Linked DNA regions of Homo sapiens: region 1 is linked to region 2. Evidence: promoter capture Hi-C in 16 types of primary human blood cells and fetal thymus (Javierre and others, 2016). All regions are on one chromosome and are shown on one strand. The core of a region is centred on a gene start or on the middle of the fragment in contact, and the rest is flanking DNA. Distances in the headings are between cores, read along the strand shown. Region 1 overlaps PLA2G4A (phospholipase A2 group IVA). Region 2 holds the start of PDC (phosducin).

Evidence for each region. Contacts are between HindIII fragments. The CHiCAGO score rates a contact against its expected background, and 5 or more counts as called.
Region 1: a contact is called between a fragment that was not itself captured here and the fragment with the promoter of PDC in region 2, in 4 of 17 cell types (monocytes, total B cells, naive B cells and 1 more). The highest score is 6.9, in monocytes.

The regions. Positions count from the first base shown.
Region 1 is chr1:186,987,577-186,995,152 of GRCh38, reverse strand. It overlaps PLA2G4A (phospholipase A2 group IVA), which reads right to left. Exons shown (of 18, transcript NM_024420.3): 18 at 6,172-6,776. The coding sequence ends at 6,645. Among named protein-coding and RNA genes, the nearest start is that of LINC01036, 100 kb to the left of the region's middle. The HindIII fragment of the contact is 4,093 bases long and covers 39-4,131 here.
Region 2 is chr1:186,458,675-186,465,369 of GRCh38, reverse strand. It overlaps PDC (phosducin), which reads left to right and starts at 4,256. Exons shown (of 4, transcript NM_002597.5): 1 at 4,256-4,311. The region is part of intron 3 of PDC-AS1 (PDC antisense RNA 1); the gene reads right to left. The HindIII fragment of the contact is 3,468 bases long and covers 3,522-6,695 here.

The DNA.
Region 1 (7,576 bases), core at 836-3,335, 530 kb before region 2:
AGAGCTAAGGGTCATGCTTAACTCTGCAGAGGGAAGCTTGAAACTTCACTGAAGAAATAATATTTCAACTAGATCTAGCAGAACAAACCAGAAGAGAAAAATTGCACAAAGGAATTGTGAAAGGGCACAATGCAATGAATGATCAGAGCATGATGAGAGGCGTAGCTGAAGTTTAGGGTGAGTGAGGAAGTGATGAAAGGAAATCAGACTAAAAGTAGACTAGGCAATGGATGTGAAGGGCCTTGTAAGCCATGGTATGTTTAAACATACTATATGTTAGCCATGGTATGTTCATAGTGTTTTCCATATGTAGTCATATTTGCCATCGTGTTTGTATTCACTCAGTTTAGAGTAAGAGGAAATTAGCTCACACTAAAACACTGGGGAAAAGGGATTATTATTAAAAACTGCTTTGTTTGCAGCAGGCAAAATATTCAAGAGGTTCAGACAATAATTTACATAATGAGTTTTAGCACAGCAATAATTGAATCTTCCCTAAAATATTTCCCTCTCCAACTAGTTATCCAATTTAAAATATCACCATAGGTTTATTATCATATATTAGCAAAAATCCTCATCTAAAATAGAAACAGTGCCACAGCTTATATACTCTGAGTAATAAAGTACCATGGAACCATCTAAACTGGCCCCTACTACTCACCAATAAATGAATCCCCCGAACTCATCTTCTGTGAATATGTGAATAACCACAGTGATAAAAATTTATTTGCATCACGGATTTTATTTCATTTTTAAACAATCTAGTTGGTAGAAACCTCTTCCTTATTTGGACTCACGCAGTGCCTTATTCCTCTTCCACTAGAAACCTAGTCATGATTTTCTATTTCTGCCAATTCCAATCAATTGGTATGACTGACGTGGGGCACATGGCTGAGCAGGAATCTAAAACTACATCCAGATTCATCAATGAAAAATAAATGATTCAGTGGCTGTATTTGCCAGGAATTCTGGAAGGGAGAGTGGCAACTTGCGTGATATGTTTTTCATTCCAAGCTGAGACTATTTGAAGACAACTATAATAGCTCTACCATCTGTGCTGTGAAATGGTTCCCATATAAATGCCTAATACAAAGCATAATCTTAATAAAAGTTTTTTGAGTGGATTTAAGACATTGTTGCTAGCCCTCTAGGAGTCATTTTTTTCTTGGACATTCTAGACAATGCCTACCTTAAAATTTTAATGTTCTACATCTTCTTTCCGTCTTTACTATTGGTGTATTGAATTCTAGTACAGGGTTCTCCATTTGTTCCTGTTAAATTTCATCTGGTTAGAGTTAGCTTGTTTCAACATATATTTTTAAATTACTTTCCAAAATATTTTGAGGTTTTAAGAGTTCTTGAATATAATGTATGCCAGTGGATGGATGCCAAACAAATCCTAAAGTAATATTAAAATGCATTGAAGAATATAGAATCCACAACAAGGAGGTAATAAGCTCACTCCAGGAGAGAAATCACCTGCCTCCTAAATCCTATTTGAATTTCTACTTATCTTTTAATACTCAGCCTAAAAGCTAATTCTCCATGAAAACTTCCCATAATTACCCCAGTTGTAATGACTCAGTTTGTAAACTCTTTGAAAGAAGAATCAAGTCTCATGTATTTTGGTATCTATCTTAGGTCAGGTTCTATAGAAAAAGACTGAGATAAAGGTTCTCATGTAATACGTTGAAGGAGTGTGCGATGATGAACCTGATGAGGAGTGAAGAAAGATAAAAGAGGGAGAAAACCTCAGTAAAGAAATGGGTTTAGTTGAAGTCTTATCTCAGCCTGATCCCAGGGAAAACTCTTGAGCATGAAAAACATCACAGAATTATCCTTATTTATAATAAATACACATTACAGGCATTCAGAGCTCTTTGTAACCCCTCATCAGTTAGTCACTGGTTGCAGCTTTCCTCAGGAGGAAGGCAAAACCAACCATATCTCATCAGCTGAGAACAATTCTCAGAATAAGAATGCAGCTGTAGACTTTTAGCAGCCAATACTCACAGCAGCTTGGAGATGAGTGTCTGACCAGGAAAAGGGGATCTGGACAGAACAACAGCAGTACCTGCTACAGTTTCTCTCCAGAATCAAGTGTGGCATCTTACATGTATAAGACACAATAGATGCTTACTGATCTGTAGTGTTTAGAGAATTCAACCAAAATGCAACTCTTCTATTCGCCACATTTTTATTATTGGCTATTCCTTGTTTCGCTCTTATGCTTATACAGCGAAAGGTGGCGTTAATTAATTGGATTTTTAATTTGGTAGTACAGTAATAGAAGAAATATAAAAATCACTAGGATGTCACAAAACTCTAACCCTTAAACTATTTGGTGAAAGCAGCTCTGTGGAATTTTTAGCTTGTGATTTATTTTCTTTATTTGTTTTTATTAAATATATAAATAGTAGGATTTACATTGATCAGCTGTAGAAAAAAGAGTTAAAAGAGTATGGATATGAAATGGGAGCCACTGATGTAAACTCCTTTAATTTGTTCAGAGAATCCTCCAACTGAAATTCTGTTGCTAATTTTAAGTAATTTTTAACAGTATGAAACACTGTGGAGCTTACAGAAAAGTTGCAAATGTGATAGGAGAGATGTTTTTCTTCTCTGAGCCATTTAGGAATAAGTTACTAACATGAAGTTCCATCACCCTGAATAGTTTAATGTGTGCTTACTACAGATAAGGATAATCTGCTACCTATCCACAATATAAGCATCACATCAGGATATTAGCATTGATACATTACTATGACCAACTCTTCAGAGCCCATTCATATTTCACCAGTTGTTCTGCTGGCATCTTTTATCTGTCAGTGGAACAGTTGGTGAAACATGAATGGAAGAATTCAGGTCAGAATCCCATGTTGCTTTCAGTTGTCATGCTTCTTTAGTCTTCTTCAGTCTGGAACAGTTCTGTCTTTCCTTGACTTGCCTAATCTTTACAATTTTGAAGATGACAGATGGCTATACTTGACATTTCTTGCAATTTGAGTTTGCCTGTCACTTCTTCGTGATTAGATTCAGGTGCTGCATCTATGGCAGGATTATCACAGAAGCAATGCTACATTCTCTTTGCATTCTACCAAGTGGGGCAATTTCGGTTTGCCTCACTTTTGAGAACACCAGTTTTGATTACTTAGTCTGCCAGGTTTCTCTACTACAAAGTTACTTTTTTCCCTTTGTAATTAAGTATTTTATAAGAGGAAGTATTTTGAGATTATGTAAATATCTGGTTCCTTATTAATCTATTTATCTATTTACATCAAATGAGGTCATTGTTTCCTATATTATTCAATGGATCATAATCTGTTGCCAACATTATTTATTTGAATGTTTAATTTTTTCCAAAAAGAGCCAGTAGGTGTCCCTTCAAGCTGGCTTATGTGTCTTTTTGACATGTCCTTATCATTCTTTGAGCACTTCTGTACTGTGGCAAAATAAAATGGTCTAGCATCATTTTATACTTGTTCTGTCCGACCTAGAATCAGCCACTTCCTTGAGGATCCTAGGTTTCTGTTGTTATATGATGGGATTTGAAAGCCAACTGCTGTGTCCAGCTGTGCTCATTGCTATTGGGAGTATCACCGCTCCCAGATCCTCTCAGTGACAGACGTACAGAATCTCTACACACACCCACTTTCATGTCTGTTTATTCTATATATCTCTACTTATACTAAAACCCGTGAATTCATACTAATACCTCCTACTTCAACTTAACACCACACAACCTTCTGTTTTTCTTCATTTTCATATTTGTAACTCCATTCCAGTGAGAAAACTGGCACTCATTATATTTATTATATTTCATATATTTAATTACTTCATTGGTTCCCCCATGTGTAAGCAAGCTGCACTGTCTGTGCCACACCTTCCTCTGCATGGATGCCCTCCCATCTCAGGTTTTGGTGTCTGACTTTGATTCCCCATTGATTCCCATGGCTTTGGGATTAAATTGTTTAAGGAGGTAAAGAGAAGGGGAAAGGAAAAAGAAAGAGGAACTACTGTTGAAACTTTTATAAAGTGTTTTCCATGTTAGAACAAAGGTATTCATGAAAAGTTTAAAATTGTATACTTCAGAAGAAATGAAATTAGATATATACATACACACACCAAGCTTTTATTTTGTTGCTTTCATTGCTTATCAAAAAACAAAAAAAACCCTGAAATTGCACAGCTTGTTCATGGATGAGGTAAAGTAGCAGCCCTGTCATGGCGTGAACAATGAACAAACTAGAACACTTGTGCTTGCGTGAAAAAGGCAAAGAGCCAAGCCGAAATTACTAGGGCACGTTGATCATTTTGGGGAAGACTAAGGGGACATCTCACTTGTCAGTCATTCTTTGGAACAAAGAAATAATAAAAAAAAAATGTACAGATTTAACTGGCCACCCAATGTGTGTTTTTATAAAATCAGAATTCTAGTAAATTCATAAATGAAAAAATGGCAAAGCTGAATTAGATGAAAAGCCTCTGTTATTGTAGTTAAGAAACTAAAAGCATGTGAACAAAGGGAAAGCAAGTGTCCTAGTTGGTCCCAGCTTTATAATGACTGTCACTGAAGTGTTCATCTAATTTGTTTCTAGAGGGCACCATAGATGGTGATATACAGGCCATAGGGTCAACAGCATAGGGACCTGGTTCAGAATTTAGTCATCTTGGACATATTTCTTAACCTCTCTGGTCTTGTTTCTTTACAGAGGTATTTGGAAGGATAAATCAAATGCAAACAATATTGCCAAAGTTTGAACAAATAAGAGAAAATTAATTGTACACCTCCCACTCTGCCTTAGGCACGTTGGTCCCTTCTCTGTTTCCGGAATATGCTTGGTGCTCTACCTCAGGGAACTTTGATTTGTTATTTCCTCTGCCCGCAGTGCTTCTCCGTTGGATAGCCTCAGGTCTTGCTCCCTCAGCTCTTCACCTCTTTGCTGCGATGTCACCTTCATATTATGGCCTTCTCTAGGACCCCCTGTAAAATTACACACCTCTAACACATCCCATCTCCTCTTTTTCCTGCTTTTTCTTCTTAGCACTTATCACTCTCTAACATTCAACATATGTCTGTGTCATGTTTATCATCTTTGGTCATCTCCACCAGAATGCAAGGTCCTTAGGCAGGCACTTCGGTCCGTTTTTTCTACTTTTGTGCCCCTAGATCCTGGGATCCTGCAACATGCTTGACAGCATGCAGTAGGCACTCATTTGCCATAGGCATAAATCAATGAACAATAGAATGAACGTTCAAGGCTTCCTTTTATTGTTTTTTGTCTTTCCTCATAGGCAGAAAAGTGAAAGGTGAGAGGATAAAAAGAAAAATGAATAAAGAGCTTAAAGAAAGATAATTCAAGGAAAGAAGAATGGCAGACAGTTAAGAAGAGGAAGACCTGAGCTTTGGAACATTCTGAACCATAACAGTTCAGCTGCAACTGCAGCCACAGTTGTGTCATACAGTGTTCCCAAGACAAATCTTGCAGATGCAAGAGGTAGGCCACTTATTAAGCTTGATTCAGCCCTTACCACTTTTTTGGATTATTCTCTGAGGTCAACTACACTGGTTGTTGGATAAGCAGTCCAGGATAATATTAGCCAAGGGAAATGTTACATTAGAAGTGGTTACACATATATTTTCTACTTAATGAATAAACATATACCATTTTCTGAAAAAATTATATATTCATCTTTCAGAAAAAAAACCTATGATTTAAAATTAAAAGTTTCAGCCAGGCGCGGTGGCTCACACCTGTAATCCCAGCGCTTTGGGAGGCTGGGGCGGGCAGATCAAGAGGTCAGGAGTTTGAGACCAGCCTGGCCAACATAGTGAAACCCCGTCTGTACTAAAAATCTAAAAATTGGCTGGGTGTGGTGGCGGGCACCTGTAGTCCCAGCTACTCGGGAGGCTGAGGCAGGGGAATCGCTTGAACCTGGGAGGCGGAGCTTGTGGTGAGCCAAGATCACACCACTGCACTCCAGCCTAGGTGACAGAGTGAGACTCTGTCTCACAAAAAAATTAATTAATTAATTAAATTAAATTAAAAGTTTCACACTTGAGTTTAGGATGAACAACTTTTGCGTTTGAAAGCAGTGAATATGAGAATCTTTCATAGCAATAGTCCAATATCTCATTAAAAATTAACAAAAAACTCAGTTATCTCATGCTTATTTTTATATTGATGTATTTATTTCATGTATGTATATATATGCATATATAAATAAAAATAGTGTTGTCTCATGGTATGAATAAATCTAGTCAGTGAATAACATTCATACATAATGCGAGGTCTTATTGAGATTGAACTGTTAAATATTTTAAAAGAAAAAAAATTTTTAAAAAGAACACACATAAGAAAGTTGGTGAGAAATGTTTAAAAATACAGTATATATCCCTACATTTGTATCAGGAAGTTCATACTGACTGAAAATGTAGCTAAGTATATCCTTACATAATCAACATCATTTGTCAACCTAACTTATAATAGTATTATTCTCATGCAGCTAAGTAACTGCAACTTTGAGTATCAGCCAGTCTCTCATGATCAGTACGACTATCTGTACTGTACTTTTAAATCCAGTTGTCATGGGATTGCAAACTGCCTCAGCATCAGAAACTGCTGCCATTTCCAGTACATGAACTATGCTTTGGGTTTACTTAGAAACTCCTTGTTGAAAAATCTTCTTGCCTCAACATTACTAAGGGAAACAGAGCAACGAGATGGATTCTGTCTTCTATATTCAATGCTTTCAACCATGGCTTCTTTTATCACCTGCAAATAGAGACAGAAGTTGTATAATTAGCGCTGCTATGAACTCATTTATATATTTTTTATTAAAATAAAAATCAAATGAATCTTTTTATTAGAGTATTCCTTTTGACATATATGAATAGAAATCTACGAGTCATGCATACACATTTAAATTCAACATCCCACCACTGCACTCTTGTTAAGCTTATATTCAGCTACTGTTCCTTCCCTCACCAGGGAAAGAAGGATTCTGGAAATGTTCTAGATTTTATGCTGATAAATTTGGGAATAAAGTGGTAGCATGGTAAAATTATGTTGGTTCTGCTCTTTGCCAAAAGGGGGATAACAGGGAAGAAACAAGTAATTACTAAATCTATAATTTATGTTCTTTATAATTAGTGGGCAAGTAGAAAAAGACCACCAGGAAAGTAAAAGCTTTTCCTAGTGGAGGAAGAAGGCATTGCTGGAGAATTGCCTTCCTTCCTCAACTGAAACAATACAGTTATAAAACATGAGCCTCCTCTATCTAGGAAACATCATGCTCTGTGATTTCATTGGTGAAAATGAATTACTACTTTTTATTCAGCATACATATATCCAATATATATTCTTTACATATACCCATGTTAATGGTAACCAGAAGAAAACACAGGAAACTACAACCTCTAAGAACTGCTATTTCAACTGTCATACACTGGTTTTGGTATGAAGTTAACCTAGTTAGAATTTGGGGAAAGAAGAGAACATTCAGAATTTGGTAGATGCAGTTATTGAAGAGCAGTGGAAATGGGCTTTGGAAGAAGGCCTGAATAGTAAATCTT
Region 2 (6,695 bases), core at 3,007-5,506:
CTGAGGCCTCACCAGAAGCAGTTACTGATGCCATGCTTCTTGTGCAGTTTGCAGAACCATGAGCCAAATAAACCTCTTTTCTTTATAAATTGCCCAGCCTCAGGTATTCCTTTGTATCTAGTGAAACCAAATGGACTATCATGGAAGCTTCCTTCAGTACAAATAAAAATTTCTTGACGATGGAGGATAATGTTCTATCCTCCATCTTTTGACAATATTTTTCAAAAGATGGAGGATAAAACATTAAATTGCTACTCCAGAGTTAATTCTGTCCAGCAAAAAAATAACCAGCCGGTAACAAGGATGTGTTGTAAACCTTCAAAAGGAAACAACTAAGGGACTTAAGCTACGAAAATAAAAGAAAAGGAAGGCTGACTACAGAAGAATAAGTGCTACAGATATATAGAAGGCAATAAGCATTACAGAAGGCAGGTGCCTGTAATCCCAGCCACTTGGGAGGCTGAGGCAGGAGAGTTACTTGACCCCAGCAGTTCAAGGCCAGCCTGGGTAACATAATGAGACCCCTTCTCTTAAAAAAAAAAGTTATATATTCTTTTGCCAAAGACTCTCTAAAATAAATAACATCAGGAGATAATAAAATTCTGACAATAACTATCTCCACATATTTTTAGGAAAGGAGAAAGATAAAGTGGCTGATGGTGTAACATCTCAGTGAATGCCCATATGATTTGTTAAAGGATACTATAAAAAGGTAGAAAAAAGGGTATGCAATCAAATATGATAAAATAAAATTAAGAATACTATAATCCAAAGTAAAATAGGTTTCAAAAATATGTTTGAAAAGATTTAAAATTATGCATATAGTAAGAAGACAATGAAGGAAGATATGTCTCCTCTTTACATGAGTAATAAATTGCTAAGAGAAAGAGAAACTGGAATTCTTACCTTGCTTTCCTCTTCTCAACCAAGAAGAATAAAATTCAGACAAGAAAGAGTAGAACGCATATTGGAAAAGGGAAATAAAATCCTAAACAGAAGAAATTACAGGACTATCTCATTCTGGTAAGTCTTTTCAGCAGTATGGTCTTGTTTCCAAACATGCCCTTCCAGCTCTAAATTTAATTCTGCTATTTGAAGACTGAGGGACATGTTTTCAAGTTCAAAGTAAGGAAAGGTTTATTTTTAGTAAAAACGATGTCTGCCACAGCGCCTGCTTCATTTACACCCTTTATTACTAAAAGTTCCCCAGCCCCTACTGAAAGGGAGCCCTATGTAGATCACATAACCTTGCCATCTGGCTAAAGCTGATTAGACCAAGGGTGTGACCTTGGCCAAATTATGCCAATGGCATAATGAAGCAAAATGGTTTCGGCTAAACAAATCATATTCTCCCAGAATACTCATTTGGAAACATGGAAATAGCCAAGCTGTTATCAATAGATGGGAGGCTTAAAAAACTTCTATAGATAGGTGTCTTGAGTAGAGTCAAGGCCATGAGGGGGGTTATGGAAAACAGAACAAATAAGAAAATATATATTGAGGAAGCACAGGCTGTAAAGTAAAGGTGATATGGAAGGCCTTAGGAAGAGTATTAACTAGTGACAGAAGATCAGCCACGGCGGGAGGAGCAGGGTTGGGGGCAGGCAGTGCATGCGGTTAGTGGGATGGAAAGCCGCAATCTTGGTATTTGAGCCCTACTGGGAAGATCAACAGACCCCTCCCAGCTGCTAAGGTGTTTACTCCAGCATTGTATCCTCCAAGATTTTGAGCTGACATTCCATTCTCCTAGGACTAGAGTGTATAGCTGTCCTTGAACTCCTAAGGAATTCATGGTTTTCTTTCAATTCTGTCCTTACAATTAACTTTCTCACGCTCAAAAAGAAAAAAAAAAAGAGCAAGTAGATATATATGACAGCCTTGGAACCAGAAGAATCTACACTGAAGGCTGTTTAGGATTTAAAGAAAATTCTGTAATTTCATCTTTTTAGAGCAGGTAATTTAATCTGCCCTAAACAGGAGACTTTACTGGTTAACAGTGTGGACCATGGAATTAAGTCATACCTGAATTCGAACGCTGGGGTCTGCATGGACATAATGTCAACATTTGAAACATAAAAACTGTTTTCTTGCTGCTGTATATAGAAGTACCTTGTCCACAGAAGAGTGCTTTCACACAGTAGGCATTCCACTAATATTGGGGAATAAATGCATCAGTTAGATAAGTTATAAAACTTATCCAAGCCTGTCTCCTCATCTATAAAATTATACTTGACCTACCTCAGGGGATTGTTGTAAAGATTATGCGAAGTAAACAATTAGTACCTGACCTGGCATGATGAGCACTCAGAAAGTGTCCTAATTATTAATATTTTTATTTCTGTTTTCTAAGATTATTTTCAGCTGGTTTATAATGTTTGTGCCTTGTAAAGTATTTAGTATTCTTAAAATTGGATGTAAAATCATATATAAAAATCTAAACACTATATCAACATATAATTCTAATACTTTTAAATGTTTTTACATCAATCAAGAATCATATGTGTGAAATAATGACCTTTTGGGCTTTGACTCTTGACAAGTTTTCATGATCTACAAAAATTACTCAATTCATAATTGAAGCAATTAGATCAGATATGCTTGTCCAAATTGTAGGCAAGTGTGTGATGTCCGTAATGACCCCAAATCCCTCCAGTGAACAGGTGCCAGAGATAGCACAAAATAAAAAGCAAATTATGGAAATATCTGTGTTGGGAAGGTGGGGGTAGGATAGGAATTGCTATAGTAATTTTTTTTTTACCGTTAAGTCTCTATGCTTGTGCCTATATTACATATTTGAACATATGAGTACCAAGCTATATTTGACAGTAACTTAAAACATATTTTTTGAATGTTAAAACCACTATGACATTTTTTATCATCAAACTGAAATATTAAATTTCTTCACATTTGCCATCAGAAGGCATCTTTTAAGTTACATTTGTATTGCACCTGACTACATTCTAGATTCTTTAGCTAGAGAGAAAACACTCAGTTCATAAAAACTGAAAGTGAATTGCCCTGAGAAACTCTGTTGAAAAGCATATGTATAGCACACAAACTGGAACATGAAACCTGCTAAATGGGAGGTAAAAATTTGATTTAAGGATGAAAATGAAAGTTAATTTAGAAAATACTTTGATTTCTGGAAGAATCTCTTTGAAAATATTTATGGTTGTGACTCTCTTAAATATTGTAAATTTTATGTACTCTTCTCTATTCTTGAAATCAAATTCTACAATAAAAAATATATAAGCAAACAAAGTTCTGAAATGTGACAGGTTTCCCTCTTACTAACAAAGAGTAAATAAATGACAAATTAATTTAGTATAATAAAACATAACTATTAAAATTTATTTAGACACTATCACTGTTTAAATTGCATTAAGATCCACTTAAAGTTTCTGGGTGAAGCTACATATGACTAAACCTTATAATTTAAAAATCTAAATGTGTTCATTTTAATTGCCATTAATATTAAAAATTTTGTCCTCTTGCTAATTAAAAATTTCCAGTTTTAAGCTTAGAGTAAATTAAATCTCCTACTTTGGCAAAGTTAGATGAGAATTTGGCTGTGAGGATGAAAGATGTTAGGAAAAGATGGAAGATTAAACACATGCATCTACTTCCCCTACATCTCAAAACTCCATTAAAAAACAGCAGGAAAGGAATTTTTAATGGTAAAAACCAGAAACAATAAGGAGAAGTGAAAAGGAGAAAATGCCAATAAAACTAGAATCCAGAAAGCAAGTAGATCTGTAAAGACAGCCCATCTGAAAAAATTGTATTAAAAGCCTGTAGTAAGAGAAGATGAAAATCATAGTATCTCTCTTATTCCTCCCAATGTTGTAGTAATCATAGCACTTCATTGTGATTATCTTTTTACTTACCTGTCTCCCCCACTAGACTGCAAGCCTCACGATATAGGAAATAGGGTTTATTTGTCTTTGTACCCTAGTGCCTAGCTACTGCTTGTTTCACACAAAGTAGGTGCTCAGTAGATGATTATGGGACTAATGAATACAACTCATGTTATTGCGATAAATAGTACTAATAATGACCTCTGTCTCTCATCTATTCAATGTGTTCTGTAAAATATAAACTGACTACTCTTTGTTTGGTTTTGCCTTATTATTAATGAACTGGCCTTGCTAATTCTGTCAATCCTATTACTTGTTCAGAGCTATTTCTGCAAGGGTCATCAATATCTGGAGATTTTAAATCTGAGCTTAAACCTATTGAAGTTCAAGACGAGTTCAGTAGACAGGGATTCTCACCCACTCAACAAGGACACCAGGCACAGAGATCCAAACTGTGAGTCCACAAGTAGTCCTTTTGATAATATAATTTTAAAAATTTTACCTTAGGGGAAAGAATGGTGATTCACTGTTTATGTATTATTGTGTTAATGTAAAATAGTTCAAAGTACATAAGGTTTTGAATTATCTACTATAAAGACAATTAAATACAGCGTATCCTTCTCTCTTTCAGTGATTTCCACCAGTCATCTTCACTAATACAGATTCAGAGTAAACACGCAATTTTGAGCCTGATATTCTAGACTGTTAAAATAAGACCATGAATGGAGAACTCATTTTGCAATTTTAAATTTCCTTTGAGTGAAGGGAGAACTAAAGAGAATAAATGATGAGTCCTTGCACTTTATGTTTGAAGATCTGGCTCCCAAGTTGGAAAAGGAGTGCGGTAGTTGCCCCTTATCCAAGGGGGATATGTTCCAGGACCCCCACTGGATGCCTAAAACCATAGATAAAACTGAACCTTGTGTGTATACTATGTTGTTTTCCTGAACATACATACCTGTGATAAAGTTTAATTTATAAATTAGACACAGTCAGAGGTTAACCATAATCACTAATAATAAAATAGAACCTTTATAACAATATGCTACCATCACAACACTTGCGCTTTGGGACCTTATTAAGTAAATAAGGGTTACTTGAACACAAGCACTGCAATAGTCAATCTGATAACCAAGACAGTAATGCATATGGTGTGGATATGGTATACAAAGAGATGTTTCATGTTCCAGGCCAGAGAGAGCAGGATAGTGTGAGATTTCATCAAGCTACTCAGTACACTGCAAATCTAAAACTTGCAAATTGTTTATCTCTGGAATTTTTCATCTAATATTTTTGGACCAAGGTTGACCAAGGGTAACTGTAATCACAGAAAGAAAAACCTCAGATAAGTGAGGACTGCTGTATTCATCCGGCGCTAAGGCATGTTTTGAGGCTTTTCCTTAGTAGTATGTTGTTGTGGCGGTGGTTTGTTGGTGGTTTTTAATTTTTAAAGTAGAAATAATGTTTGTTTTGAAAGGTTACTTTAGAAATTTAATGAAACAGAAATAATGTTTTTAAAAGAAAAGAACACAGAGTTTGTTGATATTTCTTAAATTCAGTGAAAATTTTCTTTCAATTGGTTTTTTTTTTTCTATTTTGTTTCCATGGAGGTTATTATTATTACTAATAAACCTTACAGTTTGCATCATGAAAATGAGTGCAGTAATTGATTTGCAATGGAGTATTTTTATTAACTGCAAAAATAGCTTCTAACTATAGAGTCCATTTTAAATATATATATATATATATATATATATATACACACACACACATATTGTCCATTGTACCTGCTACTTAGAATCACCTCATATTAAAGCTAGAAAAAACTTTAGAGATCATCTAATTCATCATGACAATTTCTGCCCAAATACTATGTTTATAAGTGGATTTGATATTATATAAGTCATTATCAAAATATATATGAACCATTCATAATAATGTCTGTAATGGAATTCAAACAATATGTACAGGAATATGTATATTTACAAGATAAACAGATACTTTAAAAAAGATGGCTGTTATGAATTTCTAAAATTCTATTTTCTCCAGAACAAGTAAAAGAATATCTGTATGTCTGCAATCCCGGCACCTCGGGAGGCCAAGGCTGGCGGATCACTCGCGGTTAGGGGCTGGAGACCCGGCCAACACAGCGAAACCCCGTCTCCACCAAAACCAGTCAGGCGTGGCGGCGCGTGCCTGCAATCGCAGGCACTCGGCAGGCTTAGAGCTTGTTAAAGATTCCTGGGTCCCACTTCAGATCTGCAAAGCAGGATCTTAGAATCTAGGGCCTGAAAAGGAGGAAGGGTCCTGGTAAATATCCCCAGGCTTTCTTTTTCTTTTTTTCTTTTTTTGAGTTGGAGTCTCATTCTGTCCCCCAGGCTGGAGTGCAGTGGCGAGATGTCGGCTCACTGCAACCTGCGCCTCCCAGGTTCAAGCGATTCTCCTGCGTCAGCCTCCGGAGTATCTGGGACTACAGGCACCCACCACCACGCCCGGTTAATTTTTGTACTTTTTGTAGAGATGGGGTTTTGCCATGTTGCCCAGGCTGGTCTTGAATTCCTGCGCTCAAGTGATCCACCTGCCTTGGCCTCTCAAAGCGTTGGGATTACAGGCGTGAGCCACCGCGCGCAGCCTCTCCAGGCTTTCAGCTGGGACCATGAAGGGCTCCACTCTTTGTGGTGATGATCAGAGGGGCGTATGCCCTCCATAACACTCCCATTCTTCATCTTTTCTCATATTCCAGGAGACTGGCCCAAACAGGACTGTTGAGTGGCTCTAAGGCTTTTAGACGTCAAAAGGGTTTATAAGAATAATCATCATAATATAGTTATGAATCAG